Linked DNA regions of Homo sapiens: regions 1 and 2 are each linked to region 3. The links are contacts of gene promoters, found by promoter capture Hi-C in blood cells and fetal thymus (Javierre and others, 2016). All regions are on one chromosome and are shown on one strand. The core of a region is centred on a gene start or on the middle of the fragment in contact, and the rest is flanking DNA. Distances in the headings are between cores, read along the strand shown.

What was found. The method cuts DNA at HindIII sites, captures the fragments that hold promoters and counts their contacts. A CHiCAGO score of 5 or more calls a contact.
Region 1: a fragment that was not itself captured here is called in contact with the fragment with the promoter of ELMOD2 in region 3 in 1 of 17 cell types (fetal thymus); the score reaches 6.8 in fetal thymus.
Region 2: a fragment that was not itself captured here is called in contact with the fragment with the promoter of ELMOD2 in region 3 in 1 of 17 cell types (naive CD8 T cells); the score reaches 5.9 in naive CD8 T cells.

The regions. Positions count from the first base shown.
Region 1 is chr4:139,077,876-139,080,575 of GRCh38, forward strand. The region is part of intron 4 of ELF2 (E74 like ETS transcription factor 2); the gene reads right to left. Among named protein-coding and RNA genes, the nearest start is that of NOCT, 63 kb to the left of the region's middle. The HindIII fragment of the contact is 4,123 bases long and covers 1-2,700 here.
Region 2 is chr4:139,297,231-139,299,930 of GRCh38, forward strand. NDUFC1 (NADH:ubiquinone oxidoreductase subunit C1) reads right to left here. Exons shown (of 6, transcript NM_001184989.2): 2 at 155-213. Among named protein-coding and RNA genes, the nearest start is that of NAA15, 2.9 kb to the right of the region's middle. The HindIII fragment of the contact is 2,924 bases long and covers 1-2,700 here.
Region 3 is chr4:140,522,762-140,525,461 of GRCh38, forward strand. ELMOD2 (ELMO domain containing 2) reads left to right here and starts at 1,407. Exons shown (of 9, transcript NM_153702.4): 1 at 1,407-1,519; 2 at 2,659-2,700. The coding sequence starts at 2,668. RefSeq lists silencers at 1,109-1,458, 1,649-1,768. The HindIII fragment of the contact is 7,186 bases long and covers 1-2,629 here.

The sequences.
Region 1 (2,700 bases), core at 53-2,552, 1.4 Mb before region 3:
TTTTAAAAATAGAAACAATGAAGCTAAAAGTAGTCTGACAGGTATCATTTTCTAGTTACCACTGGTAGTGGCTATTGCTGGTCAATCCCCCTTGAAATAAATTTCAAGAACTGTTTTACTTTTTATTACAGTACCAAAAATAATATTTGCTTGTACCTTCATTTAATATTGGTAAATATCTTCTTGTTCCATTTCTATCTTTCTAATCAACCGGTGTTTGTATGGTACTGAAGACTATTCCAGACTCACTCAACAGCTGTTACAAAATACCAAACTTGGTAATTAAGTCTGACAAGAGGCATACCTCTCAGCTTTGCATAAAAGAATGCTGGCAATGGATCTAGTTCATAAAAATGTTCTCAAGTCAAAAATAAAATTTAGTAGCAATTTAGTTTGAGAGCAGTGAAAAAAAATTAGAAAACACTTCATTAGGTGATAGTGGTATTCTCCTATAAGCAACACTATAAACTAATAGTACAAGGTCTTCAGTCAACTGCAGCACCCGATTTACCACTACTTATCCTCTAATGCCCCAAAGCTATACCAGTAATAGGTAAATGAAGAATACAAATGAAGGCAATAAAAAGGGGGAAAAGGTAATTAAAGGTCTGGAATACTCCATCTTCACCTTTTCCCCCTTGACCTTTTAATCAATATACTTGCATTATAAAGTATAAAAAGGAAAAAGAATGGCAATTCTTTTTTTTTTTTTTTTACACTCTCGGAGGGGGAGAGCGAACTGCCCTCTGCAAGATGAGATCAGCCAGAAATTAAGTTTAAATTAATTAAAATTAAAAATTGAGTTTCTTAGCTACATTTTAAGTACTCAGATACATGCGGCTAGTGGCTACCATACAGTACAGACCTAAACAACACTGTAATTCAGCTATCCTCCGACCTTTTTTATCTGAGGACACTTTTACACTCAAAATACTGAAGACCTCGAGATTTTATCTGTATTTATCATATTTGAAATTACAAAGAAAACTTCAAAATTATTAATTCATTTAAAATAATACACCCATTACTGCAACCATAAATAACATTTTTTATGAAAAATAACTGTTTTTTGAGACAAGGTCTCGCTTTGTTGCTCAGGTTGGAATGCAGTGGCATGATCATGGTTCACTGTAGCTTAGATCTCCTGGGGTGTGATCCTCCTACCTCAGCGTCTCAAGTAGATGAGACCACAGGCACGCATCAGCACACCCAGCTAATTTTTTGATTTTTTTTTTTAGAGACGAGGGTCTCACTATGTTGTCCAGGCTGGTCTCAAACTCCCAGACTCAAGAGATCCTCCTGCCTTGGCCTCCCAAAGTGCTGGGATTACAGGCATAAATCACCATGCCTGGCCAAAAATAACTTAAAATAAAAAACAAAAAGTAAGTAGCTTTGTTTTTTACATTTTTGCAAATCTTATTATACTTGATTCAATAGAAGGCAGCTGAATTCTCCTTCCTCTTTCAATCTATTGGAATAACCCATCTATACATAGCTCCTAACTCCTCTGTACACTTTTGAAAGTGACAAGGCAAATAATGTCCCAGTATTATTTTCAAAACAGTTTTGTCTTTACAGATCCTGTGAAAGGCTCTTGGGACTCCCAGAATCCGGGTCAGAGAGTTTGGTTTTTGAGAAGCGCAGCTGTAATTCATCAACTGTAATTAATAACAACCAAATTCTATCCCCATGCTTATATAAGTTTTAGCTTCTAAACATAAACATCAGGGTGTAGATGACAAATTATGATTCTAGCCTAGGAGCTGTGGCTCACACCTATAATCTCAGCACTTTGGGAGGCCAAGGCAGGTGGATCACCTGAGGTCAGGATTTCAAGACCAGCCTGGCCAACATGGTAAAACCCCATTTCTACTAAAAATACAAAAATTAGCCAGGAGTGGTGGCTCACGCCTGTAATCCCAGCTACTTGGGAGGCTGAAGTGGGAGAATCACTTGAACCTGGGAGGCAGAAGTGAGCCAAGATTGTGCCACTGCACTCCAGGCTGGGCGACAGAGGGAGACTCCATCTCAAAAAATAAAATAAATGTAAAAAAAATAAAAATTATGATTCTGTAAGTAAAACAGTATTTGTCTACTCACAGATAAATGGTTTTTAAAAAGCTCTTCTTAAGCATTTCTTTGCATCCTTTTGAACATTTTGCTATAGATGACACAAGGAATCATTTTAAACAATTATCAAACATGAGGAATTATTTTAAATAGTTATCAAGAACATTCTGCTGCCTGCCCTTCTCCACCAACCAAATTTGTTTCTAAAATAGTTTTATGTTGAATGATTCTGATTGGCTATTTACACACTGACTGATGTGACCATGTAACTCAGTTTTTACATGAATTTTAGTACCAATGCTGCAATGAATTGTGAAGGGTAATTTCTTAAATTCATTTTCAAATGAGCTTTTTAAAAAGAAAACTAGTGTCATTCCTTGAGTTTCATTTTAATGTATCTATTCACATACTGCTTTTAACTTCTTTTCATACTGCTAATTTTTTTTCAATTTGATCTTTTCAAGATTGAGACTACATATTCCAATTTATAGTAAATCAGAAATGAGATTTTCAATTTCATAATGAACTTTAATAAAATAGATTTGTTTTCTGTCAGTGAAAATATTTAGGCTAAATTTCCAGAAAAATTTCACCTTCATTTAATAACTGCATTGTTGACCAAAACTTCTG
Region 2 (2,700 bases), core at 172-2,671, 1.2 Mb before region 3:
TTAGTCAGAGTATTCAGAACCAGTAAGCAAATTACTAATTTCAGTACTGCTATTGAGAAAGACTGCTTTGTTCTTTTTCAGAGCTTTGGCCCTTGTATCCTTTTACTAGTGTGTATTTTGGGAAAGTGATGAAGTATAAGCACATTTTTCTCACCATATTAGAGCTGATGGGAACTGTACACTTGGAGTACCCAGCTGTATGTGAAACTGCATCTAGAAAAGAATCCTGATTAAGTAATTCCAGCTAGGAACTAATATCTATAATATTTTGTTAGAAGTTGCTTCATAACATTCATGTAAGCATCTTCAGAATTTGAACACTAAAATCTTATTTATGATCCAGGTGAAAAGAGAGAGGATTTGAGTTAGCAGCTAGAAAAGCAAAGTTTCAGTCCAAGATTTTTCCACTGGGAAAAAATCACATCTCCCAAGGAAGGTAAAAAAAGAGCAAGAATTGAAAAACAGTATAAAATGCAAAAAACAAAACAAAAAATCCCTATTTTTATTGATACAGCATGCATGAGAATACTATGAATCAAACTTAGGACTTGGGCCAGTCACAGTGGCTCAGGCCTCTAATCCTAGCACTTTGTGAGAACAAGGTAAATGGATTGCCTGAGTCCAGGAGGTCAAGACTGGCCTGTGCAACATAGGTAGATAACTATCTCTACAAAATGATTTTTTAAAAAATTAGCTGGGTGTGGTGGTGCATGTCTGTGGTTCCAGCTACTCGGGAGGCTGAGGTTGGAAGATCGCTTGGACCTGGGAGGTGAGGCTACAGTAAGCCAAGACTCTGCCACTGTACTCCAGCCTCGGTGACACAGTGAGACCCTGTCACAAAAACAAAACAAAAGAAAAAAACCAACAACCTCCCACCTCCCCACACACCAAGATGTATCTATAAGTTTTTATTTTTTAAGACTCAGCAGCTGGGCGCCCTGGCTCACGCCTGTAATCCCAGCACTTTGGGAGGCCGAGGCGGGCGGATCACCTGAGGTCGGGAGTTCAAGACCAGCCTGACCAACATGGAGAAACCCTGTCTCTACTAAAAATACAAAATTAGCCGGGCATGGTGGTGCATGCCTGTAATTCCAGCTACTCGGGAGGCTGAGGCAGGAAAATCGCTTGAACCCAGGAGGCAGAGTTGCGGTGAGCTGAGATCGCACCATTGCACTCTAGCCTGGGCGACAAGAGCGAAACTCTGTCTCAAAAAAAAAAAAAAAAAAAAAGATTCAGCAGCAGGCCGGGCGTTGGGGCTCACATCTATAATCCCAGCACTTTGGGAGGCTGCGGTGGGTGGATTGCTTAAGCCCAGGAGTTCAAGAGTAGCCTGGGCAACATTGAGAAATCCTGTCTATACACACACACAAAAAAAACCCAGAAGCAATAGCAAATTGTTAACATTTGTTAAATCTAGGTGACAAATACATGAATTTCTTTTATATTCTTTTTTTTTTTTTGGAACAAGGTCTCAGCTCTGTTGCCCAGGCCGGAGAGCAGAGGTGTCATCACAGCTCACTGCAGTCTCGACCTCTGGGGCCGAAGGAATCTTCCCACCCAAGCCCACAAAGTAGCTGGGACTACAGGCTCACAGCACCACACCTGGCAAATTTTAAAATTTTTTTGTAGAGACAGGGTCTCACTATGTTGCCCAGGTTGGTCTCAAACTTCTGGGCTCAAGCGATCTTCCTGCCTCAGCCTCCCAGTGTCGGGATTATAGGTATGAGGCATTATGCCTGGCCTATGTTTTTTTTTTTGAGATGTAGTCTCACTCTGTTGTCCAGGCTGGAGTGCAGTGGTGCGATCTTGGCTCACTGCAACCTCCACCTCCCAGGTTCAAGCGATTGTCTTGCCTCAGCCTCCTGGATAGCTGGGGTTACAGGCACGCACCACCACACCCGGCTAATTTTTGTATTTTTAGTAGAGACGGGGTTTCACCATGTTGGTCAGGCTGGTCTTGAACTCCTGACCTTGTGATCCGCCCGCCTCAGCCTCCCAAAGTGCTGGGATTACAGGTGTGAGCCACCAAGCCCAGCCTTTTTTTTTTTTTTAAATAAGATCCAAGTACTTAATAAGATGTAACAGTCTCAATAGAGAACATCTTACATATATGGAGAAATTTCACTCAACATATCCCTTTTGTAGAATTAAAGTTTGCAAGGTAAATGATTTTATTTCTTTCTTTTTGGTTAATATTTTTTAGAGTTAGCATTTGGAACATAGTGACATGCAAGCACATGGGGTAAGATGAATTAACTATCATCAGCAGCAGCAGCGGCAGCATATAGCCTTGGATATGTTAACTTTCTGAAAGCATGGCTGTTACTTACAGTATAACTCAAATGGGATCTCTATTTGTGAAATTGTGGTGATCAGAGTAAATATATATTTTTTTATTCAATTCAGGCTACTGTGTGGTCAGACTGTTATCTGTAGGTGCATTTTAACTAGCAAATGAATCAGTTAAATGTTGAATCAGACTAGTATTTGCCGAGCCTTTAAAATTGCCATTTCTTTGTCATCACCCAAAAAGAATGTAACATTTGCCAAACTCTATTTCTGGCTCATCTAATCAGGTACTCAGGTTCTGGTGGAAGCTACTGATTGTTTCAAAGACCAGAAATTTTCTTCCTCTGAAGGAAAATAGAATATTCTTTACAGGAGAAATTTAGAGAACTATAGCAAATAGTATTGCTGTAG
Region 3 (2,700 bases), core at 157-2,656:
TTTCTAAATCTTTTAATCTATAATTTTAAAAATTACATTAGATGATAGTTATAAGTTCTCTTTAAGATTTAAGATTCTGTGATTTTACTATTGTAGTGTCTATCCAGACTTCATTACCAAGTTCATTGTTGGTATGGGACAGGGATGACGGCTTATGCACCCTGCACATGGCTAGTGTTCTACAATTAGTCCATTTTTTAAACGCTGGTTGAGATGTGGGAAAGTATGTATCACTTGCTTCAATTCAAGGAGTTGGAAGGAATATACATATATACACTTGCATATAATATTTTTGGAATTAGAAACAAGAAAGTAATACTGGTTGCTTCTGAGCAAGGTGACGGAGGTATCAGGAGTTTTGGGTGGATGGGGAAATTTGTTTTCAGTATCAGTTGTCCTTTGTATTTATATTCTACTCTCCCCCTTGCTCTTTCTCCTCCAGCCACCCCGGCCTTCTTGCTCTTCCTCCAACATTTCAAAAACCCTCCCAATTCAAGGTCTTTGCACTTGTCATTCTGGTGCCTGGATCACTCTCCCTCCAGATACTCCCACAGTAAACTCCCTTACTTCGTTCAATGAGGCCAAAATGCCACGTTAATAATGAGACTTCCTTGACCACACTGTATGCAATGACTTCCCCCACAGACTCCCCATTACCCCTTAGCTAACAACCCCTATACCCTTAACATTTAGTAGCATCTGACATATTAAATATTTGGCTGTTTGTTTCGTGTTTGACTGCCTTTTGGAACACTGCCTGTGCTAACAATCAACAAATACTTGTTGAATTAAGAAACTTACTGCTTGAGGTTTTTAAAAAGTAATCACGAAATTACTTTTTCAACAAAAACAACCAGTTAGGGAATAAACATTTGATAAATTAACTTTTAGACCTATAGTATTATAGGATAAAGTCCAAACTTCGTTTCTCAACACATGGACTTTCCTCATCTGCCACGTATTGGCCACAGTCAAGTAGCCGGTTCCCTTTTCTCGTGCATAAAGTGGAGTTATTCATAATTACTTCACAGAATTAAGATTCAATGCAGATGAAAGCGCTTTTGTAACTAAGGCACTATAAGTTACCGTAAGCACAGGGTTTCTTCCGCGCTTGGAGCCTAGGAATAGTACAAGGTGTCAACCCGCGCTAAGGACCTGAGGTTCAAGGAGGGAAAAGTCTCCAGCGCAGCGCTAGGAGGCGCTACTCCGGCGCGGGGCGGGGCTCCTGGCCGCCGTTGCCAGGGAAACCGTCTGGGCGTCCCTAGTATCTGAGCCCTCGCGCCTGGGCCACTCAGCTCGACCTCTCTCCAGCGTTAGCAATAGGTGGAGCGCGGGCCAATCGGAAGAGGCCGGAGGGGCGGGGCGGGCAGTGGCCCTGGGAAGGCGGGTCCGCGGCCTCGCTCCCTGACTTCCGGGTCGCGGTGCTTGAAGGGAGTGTTCCGTCGTTTCCGTTGCCGGCTGTTTGCAGTGGGGAAACCGAGGCAGCTCCTGCTCCCCCTAGTTCTTCCGCTCCTGTGAGGTGGCTGCTGTTTCTTTTCCTCTTGCCCCGGATGCCTCGGTGCGGCTGCACTGAGAGCGCGCGGGCTCGCGAGCCCCGCGGGGTTCTGCGGGAACCCGGGGGCGCCTGGGCCGGCGGGTCTTTGTGCGAGCCCTGCCCTCCCATTCGCGGGCGGCGCGCGAGGGGGGTCGGCGCAGAGACGCCCAGAGCCCTGGGGTGCTCAGGCGCCGCTACGCGTGCATCCCCTCTGCTCGGCAGTTCTGCGCTTTTGTCCTAATGAGCGCGGACTAGATGGCTTGATTTTCAAGATAATGATCAACCCAGCTGTGCTATGCGCTCTTTCTGCACTGACCTGCGGGTACTTCGAACTTCGACAGTCCCTCCTCAGGCCCTAGTCCAGAGGTGACGTGTCTGTGGGAATGTTTAAGGCAGGAAGGAGACGAGCAATTTTGTTTTTAAGTATCTCCCTCTCACTAGTATCTCCCTGACTTTTTCATTTAGAAGCTGAAGAATTTTCTTATGGCATAAGATATAGTTGTATCGAGTGTGTACTTAGCAAAACAAAAACTTGTTAGTATTTCTGCCCTTGACCTATTGAATGGAAAATCAAGAATGAGCTAAGGTGTTATATACTCAGTGTTCAACTTGTATACTTAAGTTTGTAGTGTTTTTATTTGCTGGCATCACCTGACTGGGACAGTTGTAACGAATTATCCACATGGGATAAGAAGAGTGTATTCTATAAAAACAACTCTGATGTTTTGGTATATATTTTAATTGTTGATTAGTTGGAGTCCTCTTGATCTTGAACTGTTGAGCCCCAGTTCTCAAAGAATGGGAAGTTAGGAAACTAAGATATGAAATACAATTATTTAGCAAAAAGTGCAAACCATTCTGTTACTCTTTCAAGCCATTGAATAGTTTGAGTACATTGTTTGAATTTTAGTTTTGAAAAAGTGATTAATTGGCCATTTGATCATCAATTAATAGCGGTATATATTACACCTGCCATTGTTTTTAAATGCCTAATTAAACTGTCAAAACAGACACAATGAAATGATAGATACATAATTTGAGATTTGATCAGTTGTATAAACTTTTTAAATTTTAAAATTCAGTTTAAGGTCATTAAGCTTGTCTTGTATGTTTCCCTCCTCCAGGAAAAAAAAATGTTTATTTCTTTGTGGGAGTTCTTCTATGGG